Regions from separate parts of the Homo sapiens genome. Here region 1 is linked to region 2. Evidence: promoter capture Hi-C in 16 types of primary human blood cells and fetal thymus (Javierre and others, 2016). All regions are on one chromosome and are shown on one strand. The core of a region is centred on a gene start or on the middle of the fragment in contact, and the rest is flanking DNA. Distances in the headings are between cores, read along the strand shown. Region 1 has its middle 2.5 kb from the start of TRT-TGT2-1. Region 2 holds the start of HLX (H2.0 like homeobox).

Region 1 (4,143 bases), core at 1,347-3,846, 1.6 Mb before region 2:
ATTTACTGAGTACTCAAATAATGCTAGATGAGGCAGAGTGAACAAGCAAAGCTCTGCCTCTGCTGCTTTGTTTGTTTTTCTTTTTTCTTTCTTTCTTCCTTTTTTTTTTTTTTTAGACAGAGTCTCGCACTGTTGCCTGGGCTGGAGTGCTATGGTGTGATCTTGGCTCACTGCAACCTCTGCCTCCCAGGTTCAAGCCATTCTCCTGCCTCAGCCTCCCAAGTAGCTGGGACCACAGGTGTGCACCACCACGCCCAGCTAATTTTTGTGGTTTTAGTAGAGACGGGGTTTCACCATATTGGCTAGGATGGTCTTGATCTCTTGACCTCGTGATCCGCCCACCTTGGCCTCCCAAGGTGCTGGGATTACAGGTGTGAGCCACCGCACCCGGTCCCTGTTTTTTTTTTTAATGGTCGGGATCACTATGCTTCATTCCCTTTTGATTAATGAACCATTTACTGAAGGAATGAAGTCATGGCCACAACATGATCCATTAGTGCATTAAAGAGAGAATGAAGATCATGCTCACCAAGTGGGCTGCAGGCATCTCTCCCTCATCTCCAAGCTTTGGCTTACATCCACTCTCTCAGTGAGAGCTGTCCTGATCCCCTGTTTACAGCTGCACCATCCTCCTTATTCTGCTCTTTTTACTCCATACTACTTAACCTTCTTTTGTAGTAGATAATGCGCTTATTGTTTTTTATTCTTCATGTATCTCTCCCTAATAGAATATCAGCTCTTTGAGGGCTAAGGCTTTGATCTGTTTTATTCACTGTTGTCTTCTCAACACCAGAATACTCTCTGGCTCATAGTAGATGCTCAACAAATGTTGAAATGAATGACATCTCTGATGATGCTCATTTAGTAAATTAAGAGAAAAGAGAAATCAGGGAAGTGCTTTGGGAGCTGTCTTCTCATCATTTTGCCTTATATTCACTTGCGTTGCCTCTCCGTCTACATTGGAATTTTGCATCACCCTTCGATTCTGCAGCTTATCTGGTTCTCTCCTTCTCCTGCTTCCCCGGCCCATTGCTCTGAGATTTACTGCCTGTCGTCCCTCCTCAGCTCCGGGAACCTTCAGTGCCTTCTCACTGTACTCTGGGTAAAGGTCAAACTCCTCAGTAATTTCATCTTTCATATACAAACTTTCCCTCCCTCTCAAGCTACCTGCAGGTACTTTCATCTCTCATCGCACATGGTTCCTTCCACCTGAAACATATAAGCCTGATTTTAATGTCTTATGTTGTCTTGGCAAGAGCCTTAGAGAGCTGGCTTATTTTCCATCTCAGAGGCGATTTTGAGGAGTGTATTAGTTTGCTAGGGCTGCTGTAACAAAATACCTCACACTAGGTGACTTAAACAACAGAACTGTATTATCTTCTAGCTCTGGAGGCTAGAAGTATGAAATCAAGGTGTTGATAGGGCTGGTTCCTTCTGAGGGCAGTGAAGGAAGGATCTCCTTGGCTTGTAGATGGCCATTTTCTCCTTGTGTCTCCTCACATCATCTTCCCTCTATGTATAGCTCTGTATCCAAATTTCTCCTTTTTATAAGGACACCAGTCAGATTGGGTTAGGGCCCACCCTACTGACCTCACTTTAACTTGATTACCTATGAAAAGACTCTTTCCAAATAAGGTCACATTCTTAGGGACTGGGTCTTAGGACTTCAACAAATGAATTTTGAATTTCCCTTCTTCCATTCCCTTGAGTTGGCACAGCACCACCCTCGACCCCTCCTCCCAATACTGATGCACGTTATCTCCCAGCAGCAGGAGGTAGCATGTGATAGACAAATGGAACCTCTCCTCTTTTCAATTCCAATTTCTGTACTGTAAGAAAAAGGACACAAAGTTAAATGGTAAGATGAAATAAAGATAAAGTAGACATCCTATAAAGACTGTAAAATGGAGGTGATAATTTTGGCCTCTCTGTTTCAGAGCATTTTGAGGGATTCAACACAATAGTGAACCTGAGAGTGCTAGGAAACTGTGAAATGCCAGAAACGAACATAAAAGGGAATGTTCTTCAAAGGTTGAGCATTTACTTCTGGTCTATGGTCAACCCTCAGCAGAAAACCACGTGGAGAGATTCCAGCTTCTGGCACTGCCAGGAGGGAAGGCATCCCACGGTCCAGTTTTGTTGGGAGGGAAAGGAGATGAAAACTAGTAAGTCCCAGCCACATCCCTCAGCTGTTTTGTGTGTTAAAGGGACTTCTTTTTGCCTTAAGAAGATAGTTGCTTTGCTTTCTCACCTCCTTCACCCTCATTCTGTCCTTTGTCCCCTGCCTACATCCTCTCCCCTTCCCCATAGAATCCCTGGTATCCCTGAGGTGGTGGGAAACAGAAGACAGCCCAGGAAGGCTCTCCCACCCACTTGGTGTAGGGGCTGTCTGGCTCTCCTCTGAGTCATTGTCCCACGTGCATCCTCTCCTCCTGGGAGCAGACCTTCTACTGTCCTGTCCAAAGTCAGACTCAAGGTCAGAGGGTATGAGGATGTAAGGGCCAGAAGGAACCTTTGAGCTTATCTAGTGCCAGAAAAAAGCTGCGACTTCATGAGAAGAAGGAACTTGAACTTCATCATGGGTGAAATGATGTGCTAGGAACATTTCTAATCTTTTCTACTAGCTATTTTGAAATATACAATACATTATTGATAATTATAGTCACCCTACTGTGCCATCGAACACTAGAACTTATTCCTTCTATCTAACTGTATGTTTGTACCCATTGACCAACTGTATTAGTCTGTTCTCATGCTGCTATACAGAGCTGCCCGAGACTGAGTAGTTTACAAAGGGAAGAGATTTGATTGACTCACTGTTCCACAGGGCTAGGGAGGCCTCAGGAATTTACAATCATGGCAGAAGGGGAAGCAAACAAGCAAACATGTCCTTCACATGGCAGCAGGAAGGAGGAGTGCCGAGCAAAACTGGGGAAAAGCCCCTTATAAAACTATTGGATCTCATGAGAACTCACTCACTATCACGAGAATAGCATGAGGGTAATCATCTCCATGATTCAGTGACCTCCCATGAGGTCCCTCCCCCAACACATGGGGATTATAATTTGGATTACAACTCAAGATGAGATTTGGGTGGGGACACAGAACCAGAGTATATCACCAACCTCTCTTCAGTCCCCCTTCCCAGCCTCTGAAAATTACTTAACTTTTGAAGCTCCTGTTCACCTGGGAAGTGGAGCTAGGAGGGTACACACTTTCAGGATATAATGTGCTGCTGGGTGCAAAGAGGTCAGCACAGGTCCAGCCTCACCTCCCTTCAGGGACTGCCCACCTGGACCTGTGCGGCCAGGTTCACTTTCCTGCCTGCCCTTCGATTATGGTAGAGGAGCTTTATCTCTCCCCAGTGAGAGCCCTCTTTTTTTTTTTTTTTTTTTTTTTTTTTTTTTTTTTTTTTTTTTTTTTTTTTATGAGACAGAGTCTTGCTCTTGTCGCCCAGGCTTGAGTGCAGTGGCATGATCTCAGCTCGCTGCAACCTCTGCCTCTGGGTTCAAGCAATTATCCTGCCTAAGCCTCCTGAGTAGCTGGGATTACAGATGCCTGCCACCATGCCCGGCTGATTTTTGTACTTTTAGTAAAGACGAGGTTTTGCCATGTTGGTCAGGCTGGCCTCAAACTTTTGACTACAGGTGATCTGCTCACCTCGGCCTCCCAAAGTGCTGGGATTACAGGCATGAGCCACCAAGCCTGGCCCAGTCCTCTCTTCCCTCTGAGGACCCCTGCAGGACCACTATGCCCTTTATCCCTGGGACACTCAACCTCTCATGCTCAACTGGATCCTTCCCGTCTGCTTCTGTGTCTCTCTCGTGGAAAATAAAATAAAATAAAATAAAAACTGCCCTTCAACTCCAGTGAGTTGTCCCCACACATTCACTCTGACCCTTACCTTTCACACATTCCACTTGCCCCATCTGTCTTCTGGCCCTACAGCTCCACCAAAATGACCCTCATTGGCACTAGGTAAGCTCTATGTGGGTGAAGCCTTGGTGTCTTGGCAGCACGTGGTGCCGATGACTGCTTTTCCTCCTAAAACTCTCTCTTCCACTGCCTTCCTGACCCATACATACCCCAAGGGCCTGCCCACCTCCCAGGAACCCACTTCTCAGCTTTGCAGACTCACCTTCC
Region 2 (4,430 bases), core at 820-3,319:
TTTCTCTCTCCTGACTCCGTAGCCTCCCGCCCCAATTGTGAGATTGCGACACCGTGGCAGCCCTGGAGGCGTCAGTCCTGAGATTTCTGACTGTTAGTCGGCTCGCCCGTTAGGCAGTACTCTGGAGTTTTTCCGTACCTGGAAACGTGTCTTGGAACTGATGCTGAACTGAATTTCTTGGGTTCGAGTTTAAGGGACTCAGGATTGCAGAAGCCTCGTTAATGGGATCTAGAGATGCGAAGAACTGGCCGGCCGAGGGCTGCAGGCCTGAGAGGTGCACCCCGGCGGGCCGCCCACCGGTTAGCAGGGAAGTGAGATCTGGGGACAAGGGAAAAGGATAGCAGGTTACATCTCGGGCACACTCACACTCTCCGCTGATTTGTTCCTCCCCTTCCCCTTGCCCTGGATTCACTTTTATTGAGCGAAGTCAAGAGAGAACCCGTCTAGGCGCTGAAACCTCTCTCTCCCAACAGTTGCCAAGGAGCGACGCACGAAAAGTTCCTGTGTGTCCCTCACGTCCATATGCATGTATATAGTAAGTAAAGGCTTTACATAAATCGGCTTACGGCCTCACTTTCACGTGTCTTCCAAGAACGCCACAGACGCAAAACCTCCGCCCCAAGGTGGCCCCACTCTGCCCGCTCATCTAGGCGGTTTTGTTTATTATTTACATTTCCTGGGTGAAATTTTTACTAGAAATCAGATAAGTGCGAAAGTGTTTCCCAAAAATGCTTTAGCTGTCAGAAAATATAATTCTGTCTCTAGATACATTATTAAAGAGATCAAAGTCATGTTAGCAGATAATTACACCAACCACTTTTATAAATATTGATTCTAAGACGTGTTTTTAAAGAATCCCTGGAGTCATTTTTTGTTTGTTTTACATAGAACAGGTGAGTTTTAGACCTAATGTTTTGTAGTTTTCTTACAATTCGTTTTCTTCTCTCCCGTTTTACCGATTTGTCCTTAATTGTAAAAACACTCAAAGGCACCCCAAGCCAGCCCGGGGTCCGGGGAGTGGGTCAGTGGTCAGAGGCCTGCAGCCTCCCGCCCAAGACCTACCTCTCAGCGTGTTGCCTTCTTTGACTTTTGGGTCAAATTCTGCAGATAAAATGCGGTCAATTCCAAATTTGAGGTCTTTGCTGGAGGGGGCCGGGGCAGAGCCACTGTGGTGGGGGTTCGGAACCACTCGCGTCCCCGAGGCCGGGGGCTGCAGGGCGCCAGCCCGGGGCGGAGGCGGAGGCTGTTGCTGCTGCGGCTGTTGCTGCTGCTGTTGTTGTTGCGGGTGATGGTGGTGGTAGGCGGCTGAGAGCGGAGACAGCCGCTGCGGGAAGCCAGCCGGGACTTCGGAGGGCGCCACCACTGGGGTGGGTCGAAGCGGGGATCTGGCCGCCGCTTGGAAAGAGGCGTGCGGGTGAACCGAGCCCAAGTGCGCGGTGAGGGCGGCGGCCGAGGCCCCTGCCAGGCCCTCCGGGGCCGCCCCCAGATCCCCCACGCCGGCGTGCAGAATGTCTGCGATGCAGAAGGAGGGCTTTTTGACGGCGGCGGGGTCCAAGGGGAAGGAGCAGCCGCCTGGGCCGGCCGAGGAGCAGTAAGCGGCCGACCAGAGGCTGAAGTTGGAGGCGTAGAAGGGAGCCAGCCCGGCTGCGAACATCCTGCCGGGGTGAGCCGCGCGGCTGCCGCAGTCCAGCCGGACTGGGTGGGTGGGCGCGCGGGGAGGGGCGCGCGAGTCCCGGAGAAGGCGGCGGCAGCCGAGGACGATCCGCTTTCGCTTCTCCGCCCGCACTGAGGAAGAGAGGCCGGGAGCCCTAGCGCCACCGAGGGAGGAGGCGAGGGCCGGATCTCGGCCGGTCACCGCCTCGCTCCCTGGCCTCGCTTTAAAGGCGGCGCGGCGCCCGCACTCCTCGCGGGCTGGATGAGAGCGAGGGGCGCTGGGGCCGCAGGGCGGGCGGGGGAGCCAGGGAGACGGGAGCCGGACACCGCAAGAAAACCCAAATAGCTAAGCCCTAAGAGCTAAATTTAAAACAACAACAATAATAGTCCGTTAGTTAGGGGGGGGGAAAAGTAATAGAAAAAAAAAAAAACTCGTCTCTAAAAACTCCCAAAGTTTTGGCAGGAGCTTTCGAGTCAGGCCCGGGGTAGGACCTCGATCCGAGCGCTCATTGGTCATCCTCGTGACCAATGGGAGCGGGGAGTGGAGGGGAATTAGGAACAAGGGGGCCTGGCCGGACCCTAGCCACGCCCCGGCCACGCCAAAGTTTTTGCTGCGGCCGCGTGGGCTTAGTAGCGCACATCGCAGTGCTTCTTGCTACTCTGCGTAGGGGCCAGGCAGCCGCTCCGGAGGGCTCTGACTCTCTTCTAACTTCTGCAGCTCCGAACCGCCACGGGGCAAGGAGGGTTGATCACAGGAGCTTTCCTGAAGCGCTTGTCACCCGGGGCGAGTTGGGGGCGTGGGGAAGGGACGGTAATCTCACTCTTTAGGGCTCTGCAAAGCCCGCCTCCCGGTGGAGAGCGGAGCGCGCTTTGGCCCCTTTGCTTCCCTTCTCTTGACCTCATTCTGCTTTTATTCCAGGAGTCCGTGTCCTCGGCAAAGCCCCTCATCTTTCCTGGGCCCTTGCCCAAATGTTGCCGCCCTGAGTCCCGGCCCAACTCAGCACCGCGTCCGCCTCGTGCCTCCCAGGAGATCCTCCGGGAAGCGAGGAGGAGGGGCGGCCGCAAATTGGTTTTATTCTGAGCTGTCACACAGTGACAAATTGAACGAGTGACTTTTCAAACAAAATAAGACGGATGGCTCCAAACGTCTCTCTTAGACGCAGCCAAACCTTTCCCCGGAGCCTCAGAGGCTACAAAACAGGCTGCCTCCCGAAACCCGGGAGAGCGGCACGCGCTTCCATCCTTTGCAGGAGGTTGTAGGAAATGTTAGCCTCACCCCTCCACCACATCTCCGGATCACGTGGGGTTCGTTGTTTTGCAAGTGCCCACAAGAGCAGATTTCCGTGGGGTTCAATACTGCTTTCAATTCTGTGACAGCTTCCCCAGGAACCCCTTGGGCCTGGTTGCAGGAGGAGCTGCGTGGTGGTCAACGTCTTCCATTCGTGCCTTGGGTCTTTAGAACGCAGGGTAGTGGTGGTGGAGGTTTTGTGCAACATCGACATATCTATTTTAAGAATTTCTTCTCTTTAAATTATAGTCAGAATGAATTTCCCCACCCCTCTCCCAAACAAACCACAGGCCACCCAGATGAGCTGTTCTTGCACATTTTCAGGAAGAAAATAAAATAATACGAATAATGAAACCACGAAAACTTTTGTTTTCGATTGCCCTAATAAGCATCTCCTAACAGGGATTCTGTGACATTTTTATTTCCCTTCAGCACGAAGGCTCCTCACCAAATAAACCCAGAAAAGCAAGTGAACTTGCCATGCCTATCTCGAGTTCAGGGTTTGGGCTTATAAAATTAATTTCTGGTGTTTTCTCTAGCCCCTTGATGCAGATGCTATCCTTTTAAGCTTTTGACTTTCTCCTGGAAAATTATCAATCACTTCTGATCAGCCAGCACTAAGATCTCTCCCTCTCCCTCTCTCTCTCCCTCCTCCCGCCCTCCAGCTCTCCCGCTCTCGCTCTCCATCTCTCTTTTACTGAAAGGTTTTCTTCCCCTGCTCCACGCAACCAGGAGAGAGGTGCTATTTCCAGAGATAGATGGGTGTGTTTGGCTGAAGGTAGGGGTACCTGGGGCGAGAGACGTATTAAGACCAGTTTTTCTGTGTCAAGGTGAAGGCAAAGGAGCGACAAGTACAACATGGGCAATTGAGGCGCTGGCTGAGGGTTCTGGTGAGCCTTCGGTGGGAGTGTGCGTAGCGGAGGCCGTGAGCCCTCTGCTTTCTAGTGCCACTTCCAGTTTGATTGCGTTTCTAATTTGACTGCAAACATTTAGACCTCAGCCTAAGCCCAAACTCACGGTTGTGAAAGAGGTGCATTTACTCCTTACCCGAGGCAGCGCCGCGCGCCCTCACCCTCTCTCTTAAGAAATAAGACTCCCCTATCAGCTTTCACCCTTTCCAAGGTTTGCGACGCTCCGGGGTGGGCACGGGATACAGACCCGGGGGAATGCGAGTCCTCAGGGTTCCCTAGGTGCCCACAACTCGCATCTGCCGAGATTCAAGGCCCGGAGCGCTGGGCAGATGCGGCGAAAGCGAGGCCCCGAGGCCCGCCGACTCCTCGCGGCGCCGCGAGCCTCCCTTTCTCCGCCAGGCCCGCGGCTGGAGTGCAAGTTGCAACTTCGCCTGCGCGCCCCTTGCTCTCCCAGGCCTCAGCTTCCTCGCAACCGCGTCGGCGCCATCCAAGGCCTTACTCCCAGCTCCCGGAGGCAAACGCGAAATACAAGTCTTTGGAGCGACCCCCGCCGCCCCCTCTACCCCTTCCCCAGGCCC

The links. The method cuts DNA at HindIII sites, captures the fragments that hold promoters and counts their contacts. A CHiCAGO score of 5 or more calls a contact.
Region 1: a contact is called between a fragment that was not itself captured here and the fragment with the promoter of HLX in region 2, in 3 of 17 cell types (M0 macrophages, naive B cells and total B cells). The highest score is 5.7, in M0 macrophages.

Annotation. Positions count from the first base shown.
Region 1 is chr1:222,460,425-222,464,567 of GRCh38, reverse strand. No RefSeq gene overlaps it. Among named protein-coding and RNA genes, the nearest start is that of TRT-TGT2-1, 2.5 kb to the left of the region's middle. The HindIII fragment of the contact is 4,058 bases long and covers 568-4,143 here.
Region 2 is chr1:220,877,082-220,881,511 of GRCh38, reverse strand. HLX (H2.0 like homeobox) reads right to left here and starts at 2,069. Exons shown (of 4, transcript NM_021958.4): 1 at 1,063-2,069; 2 at 139-318. The coding sequence starts at 1,654. HLX-AS1 (HLX antisense RNA 1) reads left to right here and starts at 1,372. Exons shown (of 3, transcript NR_046901.1): 1 at 1,372-1,663. RefSeq lists an enhancer at 736-1,344 and a silencer at 2,463-2,512. The HindIII fragment of the contact is 7,579 bases long and covers 1-3,511 here.